Regions from separate parts of the Homo sapiens genome. Here regions 1, 2, 3, 4 and 5 are each linked to region 6. The links are contacts of gene promoters, found by promoter capture Hi-C in blood cells and fetal thymus (Javierre and others, 2016). All regions are on one chromosome and are shown on one strand. Each heading gives the region's core, a stretch centred on a gene start or on the middle of the fragment in contact. The rest is flanking DNA. Distances are from core to core; before and after follow the strand shown.

Region 1 (3,809 bases), core at 138-2,637, 700 kb before region 6:
TATATGATACACAAAATTGTTATTATATATATAACTTTTGTATCTCATTACATATACATGTATCTCTCTCATTACATATATAACTGTATATGTTGCTATATAGTCCCATGCAATATTTAGTGGGCTGAGGTGAAAAATAGACACATATATGTTATATATGTAATGACAGAGACATATATGTGTAATGAGATTATATATATTATATATGTAATGAGGGAGATATATGTAATGAGAGATATATATTTATTCAATGAGAAATACAAAATTATAATGTATATTCATTATGTATTATAAGTATATAATGCTATGTATCAGTATTTGATTTCACTTTATTAAAAGAGTTGATTATATCTGAACGTTTATTTATTTGTTACTGACTGTCATCCTCCATCAGAATATATGCTCTCTGAAGTTGAGCTTCTTGTTTACTTTGCTCACCACTGTATCCCCAGTGCCTAAGTAACAGTGCCCGGCTCAGAGTAGAGACTCAATAAACATTTACCAGATGAATGATAGAAACAGATTTTTTGAGGCAAAGTTTTTCATGTTGCCATATAGTCCCATGCAATATTTTGGACATACTTATACTAAAAAATTATTATCTGAAATTCAAATGTAGGCCGGGCACGGTGGCTCACGCCTGTAATCCTAGCATTTTGGAAGGATCGCTTGATCCTTCCAGCAGGTTGTCCCGGGAACGCGCAGCCCAAGGTGGACGCACAGACCCGCGTACAGAGATTTTTTATTGTCATGACTGGGGGTGGTGGCACTACTGGCATTTAGTGTGGAGAGGCCAGATATGCTGCTAAACATCTTACAATGCAAAGGGCAGCCCCTCAAAGGCAAAGAATTATCTGGTCTAAAATGTCAATAGCGTGGAGGCTGAGAAAAACTGAACTAGATGGCTATGAACTTTCAGGGTCCCTACCTAGTACACAGGCAGCGCCTAGAATTGCTAAGTTCATCTTCCGTTTGGAAAGGCAGCATGGGGTTAGTGAGAGGAAGGCGCCCGGGGCTGGTGGCTGGCTTTAAAGGCCTACGTGCAAATCTTCTTGACGCTGATAACGGGATGCGAGAGAGCCAGGTAGGTTACCTATTGCAGCAGGTCAAGTGATGATGTCGAAAAGGATGCGTGTGCCGGACACTGTGGAAGGTAAAGCGCTCCGCACAGCCCGCCTAAGTGCGCCCGGGACAGAGCCATCCCCCAGGTGCTACCAAACAAATCCTCCAGCTGCTGGTACGGGGAAGGTGTTCAGTGACACACCGGAAGCAGCCTAGTGGCTGAGGCGTCCTTCTCCCTACCAACGGGTTGCGAAGGAAGTAGTTGCTGTAGCCGCGCCCTGTGCGCCTGCGCGGAGGCGTCGGCTGCTGACGTGTAGCTGGGGCCAGACGGGACTAGCCGGGCGCGCGGCTGAGTGCTGCAGAATCGCTGGGGTGGCAGAGCCGCCAGCGAGGCTGGGGATGGGGGCGCCGCTGCTCTCTCCCGGCTGGGGAGCCGGGGCTGCCGGCCGGCGCTGGTGGATGCTGCTGGCGCCCCTGCTGCCGGCGCTGCTGCTGGTGCGGCCCGCGGGGGCCCTGGTGGAGGGGCTCTACTGCGGCACGCGGGACTGCTACGAGGTGCTGGGCGTGAGCCGCTCGGCGGGCAAGGCGGAGATCGCGCGGGCCTACCGCCAGCTGGCCCGGCGCTACCACCCTGACCGCTACCGGCCCCAGCCCGGAGACGAGGGCCCCGGGCGGACGCCGCAGAGCGCCGAGGAGGCTTTCCTGCTGGTGGCAACCGCCTACGAGACACTCAAGGTGAGGCCTGCGGGCGTGGAGGGGCTTCGAAGACTGGCCGCGGGAAGCCCACGGCGCCTTCCGACCCCGGTCCGCGGAGCGTGGGCCTCTGTGACCCCGAAACTGAGCACAGCCACCACCGCGACCTTTAAGATACTCACGTTTCCCACGTGGCCCTGTGAAAGAGCCGAGTCGGCCCCACGGGGCCTTGGGGGGCACAGCTAGCCTCCTTGCCCTCTTCCTTTTTGTGACATTGTTATGCAAAACTTTGGCCATCTTACGATTTCGTGAAAATATTTTAATAACGTGCATTTCACATTCGAAAAGCAGGGTGATCATTATTAGTAGGATCTGGGGTAGCCCACAACAGGGAAAGTCTCGAATATCAAGTGACAACTGTGATCGCATCAGTTTGATATGACAGAAAATTGGTTTCTGGAAATAGTGTTAATGGTGACGCTTAGTTTGGGTTTAAGGAACTAAGAAAACACTGAGAAGAACAATGAACACCAGTCAAAAGGCTGGATGTGAGTCTTTGCTGTGACACCCCTGTATGACCTTGGATAGTGACTTATTATGTTGAAATAGCTGTTTCTTCATATGCAAAATTAAGGCCATGATACCTCCTCTCAGAGTTATTATGGGGATTAAATGATAAGTGTGCGAACCGCCCCCCTTTCCATAGGATCCATAAATAGGTGCTTAATGACTTGGGTACAAAACTCTGAGAATTTCTAGTAGGAAATATTTTGTGAATATGTATTTGTATTTCATTTGACAGGTTTTATTGAGTCTTGTGGGGATGAGAGATTTAGCCCGATGCTGTTTTCTTCTACTACTGCAAAAAATCAAACCATCTAGGACATCACGAAGTATAAATCGTACTTGATGGTGGTATTACTGCTTGAAGGGCCCCATCATACTAATGCGTCAGCGATTGTAGTTGTAAAGTATTTCTTTTCTAGCCTTTTTTTTTTTTTCCCGAGGCAAAATTTTCTATGTTGCCAGGTAGCCTGCTTTTAATGATTGTACTTTGAGTGGATATAATTTTACCTTGGATTGTTCCTCCAGATTGTTTTTCCAGAGCTGAAAATAGTCAAGGAGCTAACAACTTTATTGATGCCTTCCAGAGCAGTTTGGATAATTTGGAGTCATAAAATGAGTGGTGGAGGGGCGGGCCCTGAACTAGGTAAACTAGGTGAATTGAACTAGGTAAAATTTAATTTACCTAGTTCATTAAATTCTCACTAGCGTTAGTGAGATTGTAATTTTTATTGGCAGTTAACTGAGGGATGGCTGGGGAACTGGGAAAGTGCTGAGGCCCCAAAGGGCTTTGTTGCCGATTATGTAAAAAGTGATGGAAAAAAGACTCCAGAAAAAATAGGAAAGAACTCTCCATCCAAGGCACTTCAGCATATGAAGCTCCAACCTCTGTTCCTTGTAGTCAGCCAGAAGCCCTGCTGGTGCGTGAGGGAGCCCTGGACCAGTGTGTGAAATCATAATGGGATTTACTAGGGATAGTAAAATTGATAGGATTAGGGATGTTAATCATGTTAATTTGTTTCAGGCGCGAGATGGTAATAAGGTTGTGGTGCTTGAATTTAGGTTGAGTGTCAGGAATGCAGTAGTTGTTAGGATGATATAGATAATTAGGTTAAAGATAGTGATATTTGGATTGTATATCAGTTATCCCATTATGATTTCACACACTGCTTTATAAACTAAGACCATGCAATAGTATTTAGTGTGTTTGACTTTTGGGGATTTAGGGAGTTTATGGACTTTGGAAGTTAAACAAGTGGACGCTTACCCTCTGTGTCAACCCATCTTCTGGAAGATGGAGAACTTCCAGAAGAGAGGGCAGCAGAAACACTGCCAGCTGTTGCCTTCTGCTGGGCTTTGTAGGAGTGGAGATGAGTAGTTTTGGCATGAGAATGGTGAGCATGTTGGTAAGAACTTTGAAAACAAGTGCCATGATTAGAGGGTAGAAATAGTGATGGTAGAGATTCCTGCTGGGAGGGCCACCAGGAGAG
Region 2 (4,099 bases), core at 486-2,985, 850 kb before region 6:
GGAGAAAAAAAAAAAGGGAAAGAAAGAAAACCCTTGGGGGGGAGAACACTCAAAACGCAATCAGAAATTATCTCACATGTCCTATGTCCTATGAAACTTCGGTATTTATGACCCCAGCGTGGGTCCGCGGCGCCCCGGAACTACACTTCCCACAAAGCATTGAGGCGAACCCCGGCGGCGGGCGGGGCGGCCTGGGATTCAGGGTGACCACCGCTCTCCCCAGACAGGGACCGCCGTCCCCGGGAAGGCTGCACCGCGTACGATCGAGGGGGCACTAACTCTCCTTTCTGAAAGCGCTGTCACCCCGTGGTTTCTCCTGCGGTTCGACCGGCGACCCTCTCCGCCCTCCCTGCTCCATCTGAGGGTCACCGCCTATTCGTGACCTTTCGGCTGATTACTAGAGTGTCACAAAAAGGCACCTTCTCCCCCTTCCCGAAAGCTCCATTTCTATAACTCAACCAGCCGTCGGGGACCCGGGGCCAGGCGGGGTCAGACGGGACGGGCGGACACTGCCCGTCACCCCGGGGCTCCGGCCCTCCCGCCAGCCGAGGCTCAGTGGGCAGGGGGCTGGGCTCCCCCGACCCCGGGCCAGGGCGGATCGCGGGCAGAGGTGGCTCCGCCCGGGGCTCCGGTTTCAATTTCGCAACGTGACGGTGCAAACCTGAGGCCTACAAACGCCAGCGGCGACGGTCCGCGCCCCGCCCGTCCGCCAGGCCCGGGCTCCCCAGCTCCCCGTACGCCGCGGCCGCCGCCCGCCCACCGGGCCTGGCGCCCCAGCCCTCATGCGGCCGCCGGCCCCCGGCACCGCGCGGCGCCCGTTCCGGCTCGCGGCCGCAGGTTCGGCCGCGGCACTTACTCAGCTCATCCTGGGAGGCGGAGGCGGCGGCCGCAGCCATGTTGCGCCGGGGAGGGAACGAGGGAGGGGCTGGGGGGGCAGGGCGCGGCCGGGGGGCTCGCGGCTCGCGGTGCGGCAGGGGCCGCGAGCCGCCTCCGTTCACTCGGCGCGGACCGCGCTGTGCCCCGAGGCCCGCCCGCCGCCGCCGCCTGCGTCCTCCGCGTCGCGAGCGTCGCCCTTCGCTGCCCCCGCGAGCTCGCGACTCGGGCGCTCCCGCAGCCTCGCGCCTCTGCGGAGCCGCTGCCGCTGCCGCCGCCGCCGTCTGTGCGGCCGAATCCCCGTGCGCCAGGCCCGCGCGGCGGCTCTGCGACTCCGCGCCGCGCTCGCCCAACTCACGCCGGTTTTATATTTAGAAAGAGCTGAGCCATCCTCCCAGCGGCCCCCCCGCCGGGCCCCTCGCGCGCCCGCCCGCCCTCGCTCGCTCGCGGCTCGTCCTGCCCACCTGTCGCCGCCCGCCCCGCGTGCGCTCCCCGCGCGGACTCGACACGCGGCGGCCTGTGCGGGCGGCCCGGCCTAACCGCGCCGCCGCGCGCGCAGGGCCAGTCCCCCGCGGCCCGGGGGCGGGCCTCTGACCTGAGTCGGAGCCGGTCTCCATGCCGCGGACGCTGCGCTCGGCGCCGCGAGGTGAGGGCTGTAGAGCGAGGCGTTCGGCGGGCCGGGCCCCGGGGAGCCGCGCGCCGCAGTCCGTGAGGGGCTGGGCCGAGCGGGCCCGGGCTGCCCTAGCGGCCGGGGGAAATCCTCGAGGCGGGGCCGGAGCGCCCTTTTCCGAGGTCTGCGGCTGTCACGTTGGCTGGGCCCGACCTGGGGAAACACGCCTGTCCAAAGGAAGAGACGTGGACTCAGAAAAGTAGAGCCGGGCTCGGAGTCGGCGGGAGGAAGCCCCGCCCTGCGCCTCCCGCCGAACTTCTCGGCCCCGGCGCTGACTCAGTCCCGGACGAGCCCCTGCGCCGCAGCGGCCCCCGACAGCCCAGTTCTGGTGTGGAGGTGGCTGGTGCTCCCAAAACGGCTAGCGGGAGCAGGGGGTCCACTCAGCCCTGCAAAAGTTAGATAAGGCAAGATTCCTAAAGTTCACATGGAAGTATCTATGCCTATGTGAGCTCTGAGATTTTGTTCAGATACCCTATGTTCTTTTCGGTAACTAGAGTGATTTATTTTCGATATGCTGATTTTAACTTTCTGCCTTCGCTTTGTCCGTGAGGTCATGTACACTTGCAAAATGAAATTCAAATTCAGGGGTTGCATAATTGCTGTACTTTAAGTGATGGTACTGTCATAACAAATTAGATACAAGATCAGATACTTTTTTTATATAAGAAGAAATCAAGTCTTAAATAGATTGAAATTGCATTTATTCCTTAAAGCAGAAATCTATAAAGCCCTAAGTAATGTCTTAAAAATGGAATATATGTCATTCCTGTTGTAACATAGGCCAAGTACAAGGTACAACACTGAAGACATTTTTATTTCCTTTATTGTTTTTGTTATAGAAATTATACATGATCTTGGGCCGGGCGCGGTGGCTCACGCCTGTAATCCCAGCTCTTTCGGAGGCTTAGGCGGGTGGATCACGAGGTCAGGAGTTCGAGACCAGCCTGGCCAACATGGTGAAACCCTGTCTCTAATTAAAAAATACAAAAATTAGCTGGGCGTGGAGGCGCGCGCCTGTAATCCCAACTACTCGGGAGGCTGAGGTAGGAGAATCGCTTGAACCCGGGAGGCGGAGCTTGCAGTGAGCCGAGATCGCACCACTGCACTCCAGCCTGGGGGACAGAGCGAGACTCCGTCTCAAAAAGAAAAAAAAAAGAAAAATTATACATAATTTTTGTAAAAAAAAAATGCAAATGATTTGGAGTATCATAAAATTAAAAGTGAAAGTCCTTCCTCCTAGCCCCACCATCCCACTCTGCAGAGAAATTATGACTAACAGTTACAGTTAAGTGTGCAGAAGACCTTTTCTCTGGACATATATATACAGCCCCATGTATGGCTTTGATGGGGACAGGTTTCTACAATAAAGTTCTGGATCAATTATTCCTTCACACACATTGTTCCATGTTAATTCAAAACACTGCACTACCATCACCCTTTTTTGTTTGTAACTTCATACTACACTAAGTTAACCAACCCCTTTTTTCATGTATGCTCCTCTTTTATTTGATGTTGCCTCCAAAATAAATACACAATGAACTACTTACAAACAATAGAGAGGTGTATACAGGTCTTCTCCCAACTGCATACCCACCATCCCCCCTCATCCCACTCATGCCCATAAATAATCCCTATTAACAGTTTGGTGCATTCAACCTTTCCTTACTGTTTCCGTGACTATAGAAAGTAGCTGCACCAAAGACTGGTTTGGGGAAATTTGACTTCCCATAATTTCAAATGGATCCTTCCAAAGCCACCCCAGATAAATACAGAATCTGAGTAAAAAACAATGGGTTTGTTATTTTATTTTATTTTTATTCATTTATTTATTTATTTTATTTTATTTTTTGAAACGGAGTTTCGCTCTTGTTGCCCAGGCTGGAGTGCAATGGCGCGATCTCGGCTCACCGCAACCTCCGCCTCCTGGGTTCAAGCGATTCCCCTGCCTCAGCCTCCCGAGTAGCTGGGATTATAGGCATGCGTCACCACGTCCGGCTAATTTTGTGTTTTCAGTAAAGACGGGGTTTCTCCATGTTGGCCAGGCTGGTCTCCAACTCCTGACCTCAGGTGATCCACCCACCTCGGCCTCCCAAAGTGCTGGGATTACAGGTGTGAGCCACCATGCCTGGCCGTTAGGCAATTTTAACCTCCAGGCAAGACTAGTTAACAAATCCTTAGTTCCTCCTATGAAGAAATTCCAGGTTCTCTGCGTGTACAAATCACATGAATGTGTGTACACAGATTTTTGTTAGTTTTGACAAAAATGGAACTCTACTTCCCATATTATGTAACGTTATCTTTTCACCAAATAATGTATTACAGGTGTCCTTTCATATCAGTAATGATAATAATGGCTAATGGAATAATAATTATGCCAGACACCATTCTAGTGTTTTACTTGGATGAATTCATCTAACCCCCACAACAATCTTATGAAATAGGGATTTTTATGGCACTGGATGGTTGAGGAACACATCTAATGTGCCACAAACTGGAAAGTAAGTGGTGGAGCTGGGATTTGAACCTGGGCAGTGTGGATTCAGAGTCAGCTTGCTT
Region 3 (4,023 bases), core at 1,287-3,786, 670 kb before region 6:
CTCAAGTACAAGTGGCGCCCGGCCTGCTTATCCATGGATCACAGACCATTCCTCTTGAACGGTGCAAAGTAACACTGAGGTGGGCGGGGCAGTGGGTGTGTAGGGCATGAAGGAGGCAGACACAGCACACCCCTAGACTTTTCCTGCTACCTCGTGGCTGATACAGTATGACATGGCTGACGTGTGTCCCTTCATTGAGGGCAACTCCAAAGCCTTCATTTCTAATGATTTTGAGGTAATCTCATTATTTCAGCTGCCATTGCTGTGGAGACATCTTCACATTAACATCTTGGCTACTAAACATTTTCAGCAGCCTAAAGGCATGTAGCAATGCCATGGAAGTCACTTCGTTACTCCTAAACCAAACCCCACATTATTTTTTACTCATCTCAAGCCAAGTCTTGTTTCCTAATTTCTGTTTTGGCATTAGTTCTGGCCCACTCTCTGCTACAGAACCCTTTGTCCTCTTTTCTTTGCATTTCATAACCACCATGAAGTACCACTGATTTTGTCTTCTAAATTTGTTCCCCCTCATTCCTACTCTAACAGTCCTACCCAGGGCCTCATTCCAGCTACTCCCCCACCATCAGCCATTTATCTTCTCAACTTCAGTTCATTTTGCACATTCATCTCAGATTAATATTCCCAAAATGCCTTACCCTGTGGCTATCCCACTGTTTACCATAAACTTTTGTGTGTATGTGAGGTTTTCTATGACTTCTGGCCCTAGCAACTTTGTATCTGCTATTAGTCACTAGAGCTTCCTCTATTTTTAAATTTATTCACTCTACATGTGTGCATCGCCTCCAGCTGTCCTCCATACTGGACTGTTCTTCCTTCTGAGCCATCTGCAAGACACGTATCTCCAAAGTCCAGCTCTCACGATCTATGATGAGCCTTTCCTAATCCAGTATGTATATCTTTGCACTGAGTTCTTTGCCATATCTTTTAAATATGAAATCATTCTATTTTGTCCTATTCATCAGTCTCAGAATTGATTGTTGAATGTTCCCAACATGTACTTTCATCTCTTTACTAAGATATATATTAATTTCTTTGTGGTGAGGAAATTGGCCACTAGAGAGGGCTTTCAAATGTGCAAGTCTCCCTTTGGCCCAGGCACAGCTAATCTGAGCACGTCAATGCCACACATCCTTGCCTTCAAAGAGTAATTGGGCCAGGGGTGGGCCCATGACTTAATACCAGCCAGTGAGGTTCATTATGGGGATTTTTGCTGGAACGATTAGAAAGAAAAGAGGTACTATTTTTCCTGGGTTTGCTAGATGGGGACAGTGAAAGTGTGGTGCCTTCCTTCATACCACTAGAGAAGTCCATCTACCACCAAGGAAAATGAGGCTAATCTCAGGAAAAGCAGAATCAAAACAAGGAGGATGAGAGCCCCAAAATTATTATTTGGGTAATTGAATTCACTAGTTTAAAGTCCCTGGACTTTTCAGTTACACAAGCCAATATATTACCTTTTGCAATATTCAGTTTAAGTGAGTTCTGACAAATACAATGGTGTACAAGAATAATGACGTATTAATGATACATGGAAAAAAGCAACACAAAAATTTTAAATATAGTAACGATCCCAGTTTTGTAAAACACTTATTAAAAAATGCAGTAGGCCTATAATGCCAGCACTTTGGGAGGCTGAGGTGGGAGGATCACCTGAGCCCAGGAGTTCAACACCAGCCTGGCCAACATCGTGAAACCCCGTCTCTACTAAAAATACAAAAATTAGCCGGGCGTGGTGGTGTGTGTCTGTAGTCCCAGCTACTCAGGAGGCTGAGGCAGGAGGATCACCTGAGCCCACGAGGTGGAGGCTACAAGGAGCTGTGATCACGCCACTGCACTCCACCCCGGGTGACAGAGCAAGACCCTGTCTCAAAAAAAAAAAAAAAAAAAAAAAAAGCAGCAGAATAGAAACAATGATGACAGTTAAATGGTGAGATGAGAGTGAGAAACGCTGAATTTAATTTTATTCTGTATGTTTCACAAAGATGTCAGGGTCTGGGATTTTATCCAATTTACCATACTCCACCAAATCAACTGGTAGGATCTCCGTGAAACAGTAACAGGGTCATTTAGAAACCTGTTGCTGCCTCATGAAAATCCTATGAACTCTCCTTGGTTCCCCGGTGATACTGTCTGGCAAGGCCCCTTATCTCTCCAACTCATGTCACACCTTGGCTCCAGTTCTCATTTCTCAGGGGTGCGTGTTTGCTGCCGCCCACTCCATCCTCGCGTCCCACGCCCTCGCGATTCCTGCTCATCCTAGGGGCGCCAGCTTCGCTGGAGGACGCCGCGCTCTGCGGGTCCCCGCCTCGGTTCCAGGCCCAGCTGCAGGTGCCACCCAGGTTTCAGGCGCTGAGGAGCGGAGAGCACTGCCAGCTCGCTGGGGTCCCCGCTGTCTCTGGCAAGCGGCTCCGCGCCGGGTGGGCTGGGGCGGCGGGGCGGGCGCAGCTGCTTCCCCGCCCCGGGGCGGCACCCGCGCTCGGGGCTGGCGGCTCCTCCCCGCCCGGCCGGGCCCAGCAGCCCCTAGGAGCCCAGCGCCGCCGCCATGTCCTCCGGGGCTAGCGCGAGCGCCCTGCAGCGCTTGGTAGAGCAGCTCAAGTTGGAGGCTGGCGTGGAGAGGATCAAGGTGCGGGCCCCGGGTACCCACGCTCCGGTCCTTCCGCCCGCGGGGCGTGAGAAGAGGAGGCCGGCGGCCCGGACCGGGCGCCAGCGGGGGACTCGGTGGCGGCGGCGAGGCCTCGGCGGGGCGCGGGGGCGGTGGGGTCCGCGGTGAGGGAGGGCGCGGGGCAAGCCGGGGGCCCGGGCCTGACGGGAGGAAGCCGCGCCTGGGGGGCCCCGCGGTCGTGGTCGGTCCCGGTCCCTGGGGGTGCGCCCACTCCAGAAGGCGGCCGTGGTCAGTTCCTCGGAGGGCGCAAGGGATGCCGGCGACGCGCGGGCCGGGAGGGTGGACCCAGGGCTGGGGAGGCCACCGCAGGGCGGCGAATTGGTGATGGATTGGTAGGATGAGAGCGAGAGGGAGGAGAGCCAGGATGCTCGGGTTTCTGTCGTCGTGACAGGGTGGACGGCGCTGCCACCCGCCGAGGTAGAGAGGAGGGGGAACAGGTTTGGGGAAATGATGAGTTCGGCTGCGGACCTGGGGACTCCGGGGAGTCATCCGGGAGGTATTTGTCCTCATGGCCTGAAGCTCAGCGCCCAGGGCTGAAAGAGGTCATTCAAGTGCATTGGGGCGAAAAAGCCTCTTCTATGAAGAGCAGAGCTCAGAGCCTGGGACCCGGGGACCAGCCACACCGATGGCCGGTGGCCGAGAGAAGAGGAAATAAGAGACAGCAAGGTTTCCGAGCAAGGCCTAGAGAAGAGGAAATAAGAGACAGCAAGGTTTCCGAGCAAGGAAGTAGGGATTTCCAAAAACTGGGGGCTCAGTCAACATGTCCAGCGTTTAGTCAGTTGGCTAAAAGGCGTCTGTTGTAGAGCTGTGTTTAGCTACGAGTGCAGCATTATTTGCAGAAGATCTGTAAGAAGGAACACAACCAGGATAGTCCCTGTGCCTCAGTTTCTCCTTTGCTGTGTGCCTGGCACTGCTACAGGGAATAGGGTGGTTCTGGAGGGGAAGGTAAACAGCAACTTAACGGATACATAGCATCGCTTCATGTACTAAGTGGAGTGAAGATAATAAACAGGGTAAAGGGAGAGAGGGCTGTGGAATGCAGAGGTCTGGTGGCTTATGTGTTAGTAAAAGCAGAATCTGGACTGTCATAGGGTAGGCAGACGTTTTTTCTTTTTAAAGAAACCTAGTTTTAAAGAGGAAATAACGTGTTTTTTTAACTTAGGAAATGAAAAGCCATGTTTTAGGGTTGAGAGGAAGTAACAAATTATATTTTTAGGTTCCAGGGAAGAAACAAATGGAAGCCAATTGCTGGTAGAGGAGACAGGGCTACGGGGGGGTGGGGGATTGGTGGCACAGCTTCTGAGACAGGAAGAAAGAAGGTAAGGGTGTGTGTAAAG
Region 4 (4,449 bases), core at 1,290-3,789, 580 kb before region 6:
TCAACAGATGTACAGATAGACAAAATGTGCTATAGCCATACAATGGAATATTGTTTAGCCATAAAAATGAATGAAGTACTGATACGTTGGATAATGCCAATAAACTTGAAAATATTATGCTAAGTGAAATAAGTCACAGATGACATATTATATGATTCCTTTTTTATTGAATGTTCAGAGTAGGCAAATCTATATAGTTTTACTTACACTTTGAGCATGGGAAATAGGAAGGATGTTATGGCTTGAGATATCCCTGTAGCAGGCAACTTTATTGCTGTACTAAGCACTTTTATTATTATTGTTGTGACAACCCAAAGGTACCTGGGACACTGCCTACCCCCTGACCTTTCAATAATGTGTATAAGTTTCCTTGTTAGAAGTCCTCTGTGGCAGTGACTCTGTTTTACTTAGTACAGCAGCCGAGTCAAGTGAAGGCTGGGAGTTTAACAGTATAATCACTCAGTAAAGTCATTTGTTGTCCTTTACATTTGATTTACGGAGCTGAGATTTGTGTCCTGCCAATAAGCCTATGGCCCACCCTGCATTTTGAGATCTACTATATTTGCAAGTTCTGGTATGGATTTGATCTACTTTCCCAGGTTGGCTTTTCATTCCCTTGCTTTGATTTGCAGGCAGAACAGTAATTCCCTGATTTAGTTTTAATCGTAAGAATTCCTTCAAGTCTGTGGTCTGTTCATGGCAAGCATCCCTGTTCTCAATGGATATCGCAGATCCCCCTTCCTTTCCTCCATGATATTATATATCTTTGATCATTTTAAATGAAATTTATGAGAGGGCAGTTAAATATTTGGGCTTATACTGTCATTAAAAATAACTCAATAATATTTACTAAATTTACTAAGACTAAATGGGATGAAACCATCTAAGTTCTAAGTTATGACTCTCCTAGTCATTGACTCCACGAATCCATACTCTGAGCTCTTTATGGTGAGCCTCTCCATAGTTAACTAATGTCAGTATAGAAGTTGATAATGTTTTTATTGTTTATAAGAAAACAACTCTTCAAAAATTTGTATAGTCATAGGTGTTTTAGTTTTATTTGTATAATTATCTTGAAATGGTTAAATTTCAGAGACGTTTTAAACCTGAAAGTCATACAAAGAGAATGACGGCTGGGTGCAGTGGCTCATGCCTACAATCTTAGCACTTTGGGAGGCCGAGGCGGGCAGATCACCTGAGGTCAGGAGTTCAAGACCAGCCTGATCAACATGGAGAAACCCCATCTCTACTAAAAATACAAAATTAGCCAGGTGTGGTGGTGCATGCCTGTAATCCCAGCTACTCGGGAGGCTGAGGTGGGAGAATCGCTTGAACCTGGGAGGCGGAGGTTGTGGTGAGCTGAGATCTTGCCATTGCACTCCAGCCTGGGCAACAAGAGCGAAATTTTGTCTCGACAACAACAACAACAACAACAACAAGAAAATGACAATGAGAAAATAATCTCATCAAAAATAATCCTGAGATTTCAACATGTAACTTGCAGAACATTTTTGCAAAATCTGGAGGTTCAGAAAAATTTTAATAAACAAGAACCTATGTAACAAACATTCTTAAGTGGTTTTTACAAGTAATACATTTTACAATTAATTCTCACCTCTTTCAAAAAGCTTTTCCTTTTCATCTACATAGTTTATTATTTCTGGCACTGGGTTTAATAACTCCTTCAGTTCTGAGAGTGATGGAATATCAATTTCTGGTTTGAGGCTTGGAGGTATTAAGAATTCATACTCAATAAGAAAACTTGACGGCTGAAAAAACATAGTTTAAAAAAGTTTTTAGAGAGGCTTTCCAAATAAATATTTTCGAAATCATAAGTGGACAAAATTTGCTTAAATGATGTGCCAAATTTTAAACTAAATCCACATTCAAAATTGTTAAAGCTATATATACTTTAAAAAAACAGAAATGTAGCAGCTAAAAATACGTTCTATTATAAGCAATGTTCTCTCTGAGTATTGTATTTTATGGTCACTCATTACATTAGTGGTGTACAATATCCCTAGATGCAGAAATAGCTTCTTTTTGGCTAATAGCAAATTGTAAACATTTTAAATTAAAAACAGTCACTGCAGTAGATGAGAGATAATAAATGGTGAGAAGTGAAATGAGATCATGGAATGGAATAGATCTTTACTGTGATCCATGGAGTATGTTTCTCTTTCATTCCAACAGAACTTGACTCCTCAACAAGAGAGACTAAGTCCACAACTCTCAGGGTTAACCTGGGAAGCAAGAGGTACTGGAGGAATGGGGCCTATTGGTGAATTAACCTTTTTACCATCATGTTAAAATTTTTATTGTAAGGAAACCCCTTAAGTGCTTTAAGTCCATTAAAATCTCCAAATATAAAACATTTTAAGTTGTCCTAAAAAAATGTTTTTTGTGTTTTGTTTTTGAGATGGAGTCTCGCTCTGTCACCCAGGCTGGAGTGCAGTGGTGCGATCTCACTGCAAGCTCCGCCTCCTGGGTTCACGCCATTCTCCTGCCTCAGCCTCCCGAGTAGCTGGGACTACAGGCGCCCACCACTATGCCTGGCTAATTTTTTGTATTTTTAGTAGAGACAGAGTTTCACCATGTTAGCCAGGATGGTCTCGATCTCCTGACCTCGTGATCTGCCCACCTCGGCCTCCCAAAGTGCTGGGATCACAGGCGTGAGCCACCGCGCCCGGCCAAAAAATGTTTTTTTAAAGTAGCTTTGTGAACGCATCTAATCAATATGGGCCTAGATTTCTGAGCTTGTCCAGCTGCAAAAAGTTATTGCAATCGCAATAGCTAGAATTCTTTACATACTGATATTATGACCATTTTGTGTGCTATTGAAACTAAATGCATCTTTGAGAAGTTTGGCCTTTAATATGCAAAAGATGCTATCATCCTTGTTAAACACTGGCAGAAAACTAAAATTCAGTCTTGGACCCTCTATATTCTTACTCTTGCAATATTCTCATTAGCTCAAGTACTATTTTTTGTGTATAACTCACAAATCAATATTTCTAGTTCAGGTGTCAATTTTTAAACTAGACATGACTACTTAATTTCCTATACCAGGTATATTGATTACAATTATTGGAAGAGATTTTAAAGTTCCCTATGACTGGCCTGCACACCAGACCAATTTATCAGAATATATCTCAGGCTTCAACATTTTTTTTTAACTATTCAGGTAATTCCAACATACAGCCAAGGCTGAGAACCACTATTTAGAAGTAAATTTGACTTCTTAATTGATACATGTTCATTCCATTATAAAATCTTTTTAATTTGACAATTGTAGACAATGTATATTACACAAATTTTACAAAAATGTGCCTCACTACTTTTACTAAAATATTATTGAAAGCCAGTATTACAACCTCATTTAAACATATTGTATCTTCTAGTTTCTCTTGACAAAAGTTCACTTTATCCATACAAAAATCTTCTTTCACAAAAGCTTCCAAAGTTTCTTGAAGAGAGAAACATTCCCTTAAAAAAAAATACATTAATTAGTGTTTACTAAAAGCAAGTTACATACTAAATGTAGCCAACCAAAACACATAATCATTAAAATTAAAGTTGAGGTAAAACGATGATAAAAGTTATTGGCCGGGTGCAGTGGCTCACGCCTGTAATCCCAGCACTTTGGGAGGCCGAGGCGGGTGGATCACCTGAGGTCAGGAGTTCAAGACCAGCCTGGCCAACATGGTGAAACCATGTCTCTACTAAAAATACAAAAATTAGCTGGGCACAGTGGCGCACGCCTGTAGTCTCAGCAAGGCTGAGGCAGGAGAATCGCATGTGCCCAGGAGGCGGAGGTTGCAGTGAGCCGAGATTGCGCCATTGTACTCCAGCCTGGGCGACAGAGCAAGACTCATCTCAAAACAAAACAAAAAAAAACATTGTTGATAACATCTAAGCTTGTGATCATACTAAAACATTTTCACCTCTTAAAAATATTTACAGCATTGGTCAATTAAGTAAGTACCTGGAAAAATTAGCTTCTGTGAAGATCTGTCCTTTGAAATCTAAAAGAGGATCCTTTACCAAAAACAGTTTTAGTCTACTCAAGAGAGTAGGCAAAGTTGGTAGGTGTTTTCTACTACTTACAAAAAGTATTCCTTTATCATCAATAAATAAATCTGAAAAGAAATAAGAAATATAAAGGAATAAGAAAAAAACAAAAAGTTATCCAAAGAGATCTAGATAGTTAATGTAATCAGTCATTAGATACAGCTGGGTTTTTCAATCACATTTTAAACTCTGTAGCTCTTCATTGTACTGTGCATATAGAGCATGTAGCATAGTTCTGGAACAAAGGCAAAAGTACAATAAATTTTAGTATTATCTAGGACACCGAGGAATAGCCAAATATCCCAAAAGAGCTGTAACGGCTAATACTTTATCAATAAAGATTAATCAATGGAGGAAAATATCTTATGGACTTACACT
Region 5 (3,912 bases), core at 1,272-3,771, 730 kb before region 6:
TAACCATTTACCCCAGATGAGACCTAAGAAGAACCACCCAGCTTAACTCAGCCCAAATTGCCAACCCAAAGAATTGTGAACTAATAAACCGTTGTTGCTTAAAGTCACTAAACTTTGGGGTAGTTTGTTATGCAGCAAAAGCTAACTGATACAGTCCCTTCCAACTCTGAAATATTTTTAGTATGACTTACCTCCATTTTTTAAGGGTGGGAGCTCAGCTGTCTTCAACTCAAAGTCACTATTAGTAGGATAGCCAACAAAGTGCTTCTTCAGGGTCCATGTCTTAGTACGAACCATCCTGAAGCTCCTAGAACACAGTAAATATGTAGTCAACTGCCATGAAGTGACTGCATTCTAACAGTTCTCTAGCCGTCAAACTGAGACCAGACAGCACAATTACAATATCCTCAAATCCCATCATTATCATATCATGCCAACCACATTCATTTAACATTTACTATGTTTCTGGTGCTGTGCTAAGCACTTCATATAGATTACCTCATTTTATCCTTATAACTTCCCTATAAGATAGACATTAGTATCATTGCCAGTGTACGGATGAGGAAACTGAGGTTTAAAGAAATCTTCAAGACAAGGAAAAAATATAAAACAACAAAGAAATTCTTCCCAGCCACTGCTAGGCTAGAGTTTCTCTACGGCACTGAACAGTTACCGGAAGTGCGAATATTCCATTCCGTTTCTCATCTCACATGGAGTGAATTCTAAGAAAAAGCATCAAACACAAAGAACCCAATAGATAGAAGTCCATGCACCTCTTTCAGATGGAAACAGCCACGCATTTCAAGGCAGTCTCAGAACTCCTGAAAACCACCGGAGGGCGCCGCTGCTCCGCCCCATTTTCAGGTGCGTTTTTTTTTTTTTTAAATACTTTTTTTTCTCTCTTTTCTTGTAGAGAGGAGCCTCACTGTGTTGCCTAGGCGATCCGCCCGCCTCGGTCTCCCAAAGTGCTGGGATTACAGGTGTGAACCACTTGCACTCAGCCATCGGGTGCGAATTTTCTTTGGCCCAGTAGGGATTTGAGTTTAAACTCCACACCAAACCGATTTTGAGCTGAAACGCTGCACCAAAGCAAGGGAAGATGATGAAGGCTGCCCCGAGCTGGGGGTTCAGGATGTTCTGCTTGGACTGAACTCTGCCGAATCACTTGGGACCTGCGCCTTCCCGCGGGTGCATCCGCTACAAACAATCCAGTTACGAAACCATTTGGAGCTGCCAGTGATCTCCCCAGCTCCCCTACCGGTGCCGCGGGAGGGGACACGGTGACCTGGAGGGAGCACTCCCGCATTGCGAGGGAGCCAGGGGGGCGGTCTGATCTGCAGCCCGGGGTTGTTCCTTCTTTTCTTTTTTTAAAATTAAGACTTTTTTTGTGACGGAGTCTCGCTCTGTCGCCCAGGCTGAAGTGCAATGGCGCGATCTCAGCTCACTGCAACCTCCGTCTCCCGGGTTCAAGCGGTTCTCCTGTCTCAGCCTCCTGAGTAGCTGGGATTACAGGCGCCCGCCACCACGCCCAGCTAATTTTTGTACTTTTAGTAGAGACGGGGTTTCCCCATGTTGGCCAGACTGGTCTAGAACTCCTGAGCTCAAATGATTCGCCCGCCTCGACCTTCCATAGTGCTGGGATTACAGGCGTGAGCCACCGCGCCAGGCCCTACGTATCATTTTTACGGTGAGACATTTGCAGTTTACTCTGTTATTTCGAAATACACATTATTGGCTCTAGTCACTCTGCTGTGCAACAGATCTCAGAACCTACTCCTCTCGTCTCTGAACTTCGTACCCTTTGGCCAACAAGCCCCCATTCCCCCCCGAACCCGCTCCCAGCCTCTGGCAACCATCATTCTAGTCGTTATTTCTATGAGTTCAACTTCTTTAGAGTTCACACATCTTTGTCCCTTTCCCCAAAAAAGCAACCGCTGGGCTTCCAAACTCGCTACAAGTCCAGAAGCCCTCCTGGAAAGGGTCTGGCCGCAGAGGGGCCAGGTCCCGGGAAAGTCTCGCCCGCCCGAGGAGGGGGCCTGGCGCGGCGCCCGGCCTTTGCCCGCTCGCCCTTTGCTCCCACCCTCGCCTCCCGCCGCCCGCCGCCCGCTTGCCCATTCCCGAATCCCCACCCCGATCTTTCTTCTTCTACCCTCCCCCAGTTGTGCAGTCCAGCAAGTTCCCTGGCCAGCCCCCTCCCGGGTGCAGGAAGCTACCGGGTGTCCCGGGTTGTAACCAAGCTTTCCTATTCCCTCCGGCGCGCGGCTCCAAGCTCTCCAAGGAACTGCGGGGGCGGGAGGCGTCGGGACGTCGGCTCCCAAGATCCTCCGAGTGCAAGACCCAGCGGTCATTTCGACGTAAGGGGAGGAGGTCTAAGAGCAAACCTCCTCCACTGGGGCGTCTAGAAACTTGGCAGGAAGAAAGCAAGGGGGTTAGAGGAGGGAGAAAAGGGAAGGAAAGAAAGCAGGAGGTCTACTTACAGGAGCCCGAAGGTTCCACTGCCTGGGGAAGGCGGCTGGGACTGCGCAGCCGGGCGCCCGGGGTCCGACTTATGACAGGTCCCAAGAGAGGGTGGGGCCACCCCAGGGCGGGGCTGCTTCTTTAGGGTGAGAGCCCGGCCCCGAAAGGGTCACAGGAGGAAAACCAGGGTCCGGGAAATCTGAGTGCGTTTGTGTGTGTGTGTGCGCGTATCTCTGTGTGCCTATGTGCATGTGCGCGCGCGTATGTGTGCATGTGTGCGTGTGTGTGCGTGCGCGCCCGCGCGCCCGTGTGTGTGCGTGTAGGGGGTTAGGGACTCCTGATAGGAAAATTCCTAACAGAGCTTTGTCCAGCTGACACTGGACCTCCGCCTGGGGTCCTAAGTTGGAGCCCGGCGGAAATATGCCCCGTGGGGGAACCAACCGTGGCATCTGCCAAGCAGGCCGGAAGGGTCCAAAGGCAGGGCCTGGGGCGGCCGCAGCCCTAATAAGCCCCCGGTGCTGGCTCCGATCCCTGGGCTCCCCGTCAGCCCTGCCGCTTGCCCGCAGTGCAAGCTTTCGCCCAGGGCTGCGGTGCAGACACCCTGCCTGTCTGTCCCCAGTCCGCCTGCTGAACACCTACTCGCCTTCCACCAGCCAATTCAAGGTCACCTCTGTGAACCCTTGCCAGACTCCCCCAGGCAGGAGTGAGCACTCTTGCCACTGAGGCACCCCACCCATCACACCCTAGCAAACATCAGGCCTTGACCTGGCTTCTGCAAGGAGAGGTGGTCTCAGGCAGGGGTTGAACGTGAAGCTAAGTCGTTGGTATTAGACGACTGCAGGTTCGAAGCCTGCACCTGCCACTTACTAGTGGTGTAGCTTTCAAAGACTTACTTACCTTCTCCTTGCCTCACTCAGTTCAGCCATCTGCAAGATGGGGATAAGAAGAATGCCTAACTTCCAGTCATTGTGAAGATTCAATGTCTTTAATTTATTTATTTAATTTTAATTATTTTGAGGTCTTGCTCTGTCACCCAGGCTGGAGTGCAATGGTGGGCATCATAGCTCATTGCAGCCTTGAACTCCTGGACTCAGGTGATCCTCCTTCAGCCTCCCTAGAAGCTGGGATTACAGGCCCACCACCACACCTGGCTCAATGTCTCTCCTTGTAAGGATACCCGCCATATTGGATTAGAGCCCCACTTGTCAGCCTCCGTTTAACTTAAACACGTCTTTGAAGGCCTTGTCTTCAAATACTGTCAAATGGATTAGGGCTCACTAATATGGCCTCATGTAACCTTAATTACCTCTTTAAAGGCCCTATCTACAAATACAGTTACATTCTGAGTACTGGGACTTGGGGATTTTAACACATGAAATTGGGGAAGACACAGTTCAGCCCATAACAGAGTGTGTGGACCAAGCGTGGTGGACGCATGCCACAGGATATACACAG
Region 6 (4,194 bases), core at 1,232-3,731:
GGGATTTGAGGAGGAACTAGAAAGATATGTTGACTGGTGGCTTGTGGTTTGTTTTTTAACTACCCAAATAAGGAAAAAGGATCTTTTTCAGGCTGTTGGAAAATGTAGAAATTTAATTAGTCTCCTGAAGGCAAAAATGCACTGTATTCTTAAACCACATCCCTTAAGACCAGGGTGTGAAAATCCCCTTTAAAGTCCTGCCATACAAAAATTCTTCTCTTCTAAGCCCCAAGAAACTGTCTTCGATTAATGTTTTTCTTCATATCTCCTAGAAGAAAGCTACGAATACATTCTACATATTGTTAATAACCTATGTCATCATTACCTCATAAAAGTCAACGAATAAATGACTCTAGATGATGTAAACTGTTTTTAAAATACCACGTAGATTTTTTATTTTTCCTTGTAAACTTCTGAAACTTGAAATTCATTTGTCTAAAATTTAAATGTGATAAGTAACTGGACGCTTGCTGCATAAAAAATAAAATGGTGTAACACTATGGTTATTGGTTCTGATACAAAGGGCAAATCATGCTCCGACTTGAACTTCCAAATGAACTTACCTTCCAGTCAGTATCTGTATAACTGCCTTGCATATTCAAACCAATAAACCCATTACTACCTTTAAAACCACAAATAGCGTGAAGGGAGAGTAAACTTCTTAAACACTATCAAAAAGTAAGTTTGCACTTCACAGTTATCCTACAGTTTAACAGCAAAGACGCAAAATTCAAGAGTCCTCTTTATTATAACTATACATTTTACGACACAAAAAAATAGCCTGCTTCCATTATTTAAGTCAAACCTTCCAGACAATTAACTACACATAATGAAATGCTAAATTCACAGCCTGCCTGAACCAAAATATTAGTGACACAAATCTTTACGACCACAAAATTTTTCAACATATAAAATGCAACTGAATAAGGTAATGTGAAATAAGTTTTCAACAATGTTCTCGAAGAAACTTCAATCAAACAATAAAAACAGCTTCAATTCCCCCCCAAAATATATACACCTACTGTGTACCCAAAAAAGTTATAATTTTAAGAAATTTTTTGAAGCTTCAATCAAATAAAAATAAAGAACATCACAATCATGAATAAAATCTAAAACTCCACTTTGATGTCTGTAGCAGTGTGCAATCTGCATTCAAATGAATCAATCCGAAATGTCATATACACTTAATATTGTGAAACTAAAATAAATGAAATCTAATGAGGTCAAAAGCTGTTGGAAGATTTCATCTTCAAATAGCATATCATCAACTGTATGGCAACATGTGAACGACTTTTACTGTTCTAGCAAGTTGCATATATTCCACAACCTCACAGAAATCTTGTCATCAAAAGTAGGTAACAAGCTAAAAAAAACCTCAAATACATAATGGGAATAAACCGAGTTGGAGATTTTTTTTTAATCCGTAGGTACAGATACTACAACCTTCAATTAATTCACCAAAATCCTAACATAGTTGTTACTTTAATTACCAAAATATGTCAAGTCCCACCCCATATCCCTGAGTCCCCAGAGAACAGTTTATATACATAGACTCTAAATCTTTTTATTTTGGTCACGGACCCCCATTAAATTTTTGAGCATTTGAAATGCCCCCGAAAATCGCTCGTACATCATATTTTACATACACGGGCAGATAATTCATTAAGTTTCTTGGGGAGAGAGAAAGGTGAGGGGGAAGCGTCCATGGTCACTAAGTCCAGACCCCTGGTGTCGAGAAAGCGTTAACGTATCTCACAGCACAAGTCGGGAGACCTCGGCCAAGTCCCGCGGCGGCCCTGGGACCCCGCGTGGGACCATGGCTTGCGACCAGGTCGCCGCCCAGACGTGTACCGACGCGTGCACCCGCCGTCGGCCGCTCGCCCCACCTCGCCGGTAAACAGCAACTCCCCCGGCAGGAGGACGCCCGCCCCGCGCGCCGCCTCCGCCTCCCCCAGCGCCGCGCACCATTTTCTGAGAGGAAGTGTCGGGAGGCCGAGCTGGGCTCCCCGGACTCGGGGCGCGGAGGGCGGACCTCGGCACCGCGGCCGGACCGGGCTTTCCTCTGCTCCCGGGTGTGTCGAGTAAGGCTAGGAAGCAGCGGACGTGTCCGGGGCGCCGCGTGGGGAAAGGAGAGCCTGCGGCGGACGGCAACTCCGCGATTCCGGGATCCCCACCGAGACGCCCGGAAGCCCCGCCGTCGGGCTTGGCCGGGGCCGCTCCTCCGGCCGCCGGCGCCGCGCACTGCTCCCCAGCCCTTACGCGTCCCGCGGAGAGCCGGGTGGAAGCGGCGCCAAGGCAACCCGGTGCGGCCGCCGCGCCGCCTAGTACTTACCCATCCATGGCCCAGATGGAGGCGCGCACAGAGCAGGGACTGACGGGCTAACCGCGAGCAGAGGAAGCAGGCGGCGGCAGCAGGGCGGTTCCGGGGACAAGCGAGCTTTGGCTCTGCGGAGCCCCGGCCGGTCCGAGGTGGAAGGAGAGTGGGAACAGGGGCGGGGACCGGGCACGCTCCCGCCACCGCCGCGCCCCCGCCTTCCCCACCCCGCGAGCGCGTCCCCGCCTAGCCCGACCCCGCCCCCTCACCGTCCCCGCCCTCCCTCGGGGCCCGCCCCTGCGCTCGCGCCCACCCTCGCCCCGCTGGCAGCCGGCCTCCGGCTCAGCTCTGGGGCGCCCTCTTCCCGCGGTCGCTGTAAGACCCCGCCTCTCGGCCCCTCGGCCCGGCGCGCGCGCGCGCCCCCAGCCTCCCTCCTGCGTTCGCGGGAGCGCGCGCCTTGTGCTTCCCGCTCCGCCGCGCACCCCGCCCGCCCTCCCGCGGCCCCGCGGGCCTTCCGGCTTCGCAGACCGGGCCTGCCAGGTTTGAATGCCTCCCTCTGCCGGCAGGAAAAGCTATGGGGACCTGACTCCCAAGAGTAGGAAGGAATGTCCCACAAGGACCCCAGAAACGAGGTGGAATTGCCCCGGGTGCGCGAGGCTGTAGATGACACGTCCAGGGACCAGCCTCTGGCAGCCCGGCGCTGGAGTCGACCGCTGGGACCGACACCAGCCCCATAGGTGTGGCTGGGACGATGAATGAGGTGAAAGAGGCTGCCCGGACTGGAATTTGTATACAATTTAAGTATCTGAGTGCATTTCGACCTAACCGTCTAGTATTGAATTTATATGAAAAATTCATTGTACAAACATGGAATGGCTATATTCCCAGCATTTTTTAAAAGTTTACTCATTATTCCCTTTTTTCAGATGAAAATACATATACAAAGAGAGTGATTTGCTCACAGTTTCACAACCAGGAAACGTTTGCACCAGAGCCCTTCCCTCTGGTCTGAGCAAAAAGTATATATATAATATAACGAGTGACAACACGCTTGCTTTTTTCCCTTTTTAGTGAGAAATTGAGTACTTTTTCAACTCACAGATCACCAAAATGTAACCCCCTAAACTGTTAAGCCAAATTCTTAACCTACTGAGTAAAAAAGAGCGGGGCTCCTCCCCGTGGCTTCGTCATTTGAAAAGCAACTAACAAGAACCTCAAACATCTATCCTTGCTAATTTCCTGCTTTCAGATCAGTAGGTGCTGCTAAAAAGATCTAAACTGTGGACTCATTCATCATTCAGTCAGTATTAACCTACTATGTGCCGGGCACTGCATGAATACACAAGAAAATCAGGTTCCAGCCGTCACTGTTGAATGGATTCTTCAGTCCGTTTATGTATATTTTTGACATACAACTTTTCAAATAGGTAGAGTAATTCGGTGAGGTAATTCTTAAAGTCCTGTATCTAACCTCAGTCCCCTTCCAAAATGTCAAATACATTTTGTTTTGTATATTAAATCTAAATATTAAGTTGCATTTGTAAACATTGCCAGATGGAAATGTAGAATATCAACAAGATAAGTAGCTGATGCAGTCTTTCTATCACTGTATTTGGGATATATTCTGTTGATGAAATTTCCTTAACCCTTTTTTTAGCTACACAAGTAATATCAGCATAAATGCTCATTTTGGAAAATTCAAGCACTATAAAATATTGAAAAGTTATCATTAATATTTTTCTTCCCAAACCACCCCCTGCCCATGACTACCACTGTAACAATTCTGCGTGCATCCTTCTGGACCTTACTTTTTTTTGTTGTTTGTTTTTTTGTTTTTTTGTTTTTTTGTTTTGAGACGGAGTCTTGCTCTGTCTCCCAGG

What was found. Contacts are between HindIII fragments. The CHiCAGO score rates a contact against its expected background, and 5 or more counts as called.
Region 1: the fragment with the promoter of DNAJC25 here is called in contact with the fragment with the promoter of PTBP3 in region 6 in 14 of 17 cell types (naive CD4 T cells, fetal thymus, total CD8 T cells and 11 more); the score reaches 11.6 in naive CD4 T cells.
Region 2: the fragment with the promoter of ECPAS here is called in contact with the fragment with the promoter of PTBP3 in region 6 in 5 of 17 cell types (fetal thymus, activated CD4 T cells, total CD8 T cells and 2 more); the score reaches 6.5 in fetal thymus.
Region 3: the fragment with the promoter of GNG10 here is called in contact with the fragment with the promoter of PTBP3 in region 6 in 2 of 17 cell types (neutrophils and fetal thymus); the score reaches 5.8 in neutrophils.
Region 4: a fragment that was not itself captured here is called in contact with the fragment with the promoter of PTBP3 in region 6 in 3 of 17 cell types (M0 macrophages, M2 macrophages and endothelial precursors); the score reaches 7.2 in M0 macrophages.
Region 5: the fragment with the promoter of PTGR1 here is called in contact with the fragment with the promoter of PTBP3 in region 6 in 1 of 17 cell types (fetal thymus); the score reaches 5.7 in fetal thymus.

The regions. Positions count from the first base shown.
Region 1 is chr9:111,629,947-111,633,755 of GRCh38, forward strand. It overlaps DNAJC25 (DnaJ heat shock protein family (Hsp40) member C25), which reads left to right and starts at 1,388. Exons shown (of 4, transcript NM_001015882.3): 1 at 1,388-1,797. The coding sequence starts at 1,462. DNAJC25-GNG10 (DNAJC25-GNG10 readthrough) reads left to right here and starts at 1,388. Exons shown (of 3, transcript NM_004125.4): 1 at 1,388-1,797. The coding sequence starts at 1,462. It overlaps LOC107987116 (a long non-coding RNA gene), which reads right to left and starts at 1,257. Exons shown (of 2, transcript XR_001746897.2): 1 at 1,094-1,257. RefSeq lists enhancers at 1,252-1,341, 2,072-2,121 and a silencer at 1,432-1,721. The HindIII fragment of the contact is 9,325 bases long and covers 1-3,809 here.
Region 2 is chr9:111,482,648-111,486,746 of GRCh38, forward strand. It overlaps ECPAS (Ecm29 proteasome adaptor and scaffold), which reads right to left and starts at 1,736. Exons shown (of 50, transcript NM_001364929.1): 1 at 1,469-1,736. RefSeq lists silencers at 366-785, 1,056-1,175, 1,296-1,835. The HindIII fragment of the contact is 4,796 bases long and covers 1-4,099 here.
Region 3 is chr9:111,659,069-111,663,091 of GRCh38, forward strand. It overlaps GNG10 (G protein subunit gamma 10), which reads left to right and starts at 2,537. Exons shown (of 3, transcript NM_001017998.4): 1 at 2,537-2,647. The coding sequence starts at 2,567. All of the region lies in intron 1 of DNAJC25-GNG10 (DNAJC25-GNG10 readthrough), which reads left to right. RefSeq lists enhancers at 2,118-2,177, 3,248-3,347, 3,548-3,597 and silencers at 2,358-2,807, 2,838-2,957. The HindIII fragment of the contact is 12,879 bases long and covers 1-4,023 here.
Region 4 is chr9:111,754,710-111,759,158 of GRCh38, forward strand. It overlaps SHOC1 (shortage in chiasmata 1), which reads right to left. Exons shown (of 28, transcript NM_001378211.1): 6 at 3,986-4,139; 7 at 3,375-3,486; 8 at 1,616-1,769. Among named protein-coding and RNA genes, the nearest start is that of SHOC1, 38 kb to the right of the region's middle. The HindIII fragment of the contact is 1,826 bases long and covers 1,627-3,452 here.
Region 5 is chr9:111,597,126-111,601,037 of GRCh38, forward strand. PTGR1 (prostaglandin reductase 1) reads right to left here and starts at 2,522. Exons shown (of 10, transcript NM_001146108.2): 1 at 2,478-2,522; 2 at 192-307. The coding sequence starts at 297. RefSeq lists an enhancer at 2,373-2,945. The HindIII fragment of the contact is 792 bases long and covers 2,236-3,027 here.
Region 6 is chr9:112,331,138-112,335,331 of GRCh38, forward strand. It overlaps PTBP3 (polypyrimidine tract binding protein 3), which reads right to left and starts at 2,482. Exons shown (of 14, transcript NM_001163788.4): 1 at 2,333-2,482. RefSeq lists silencers at 1,847-2,336, 2,487-2,806 and an enhancer at 2,556-3,526. The HindIII fragment of the contact is 11,957 bases long and covers 1,063-4,194 here.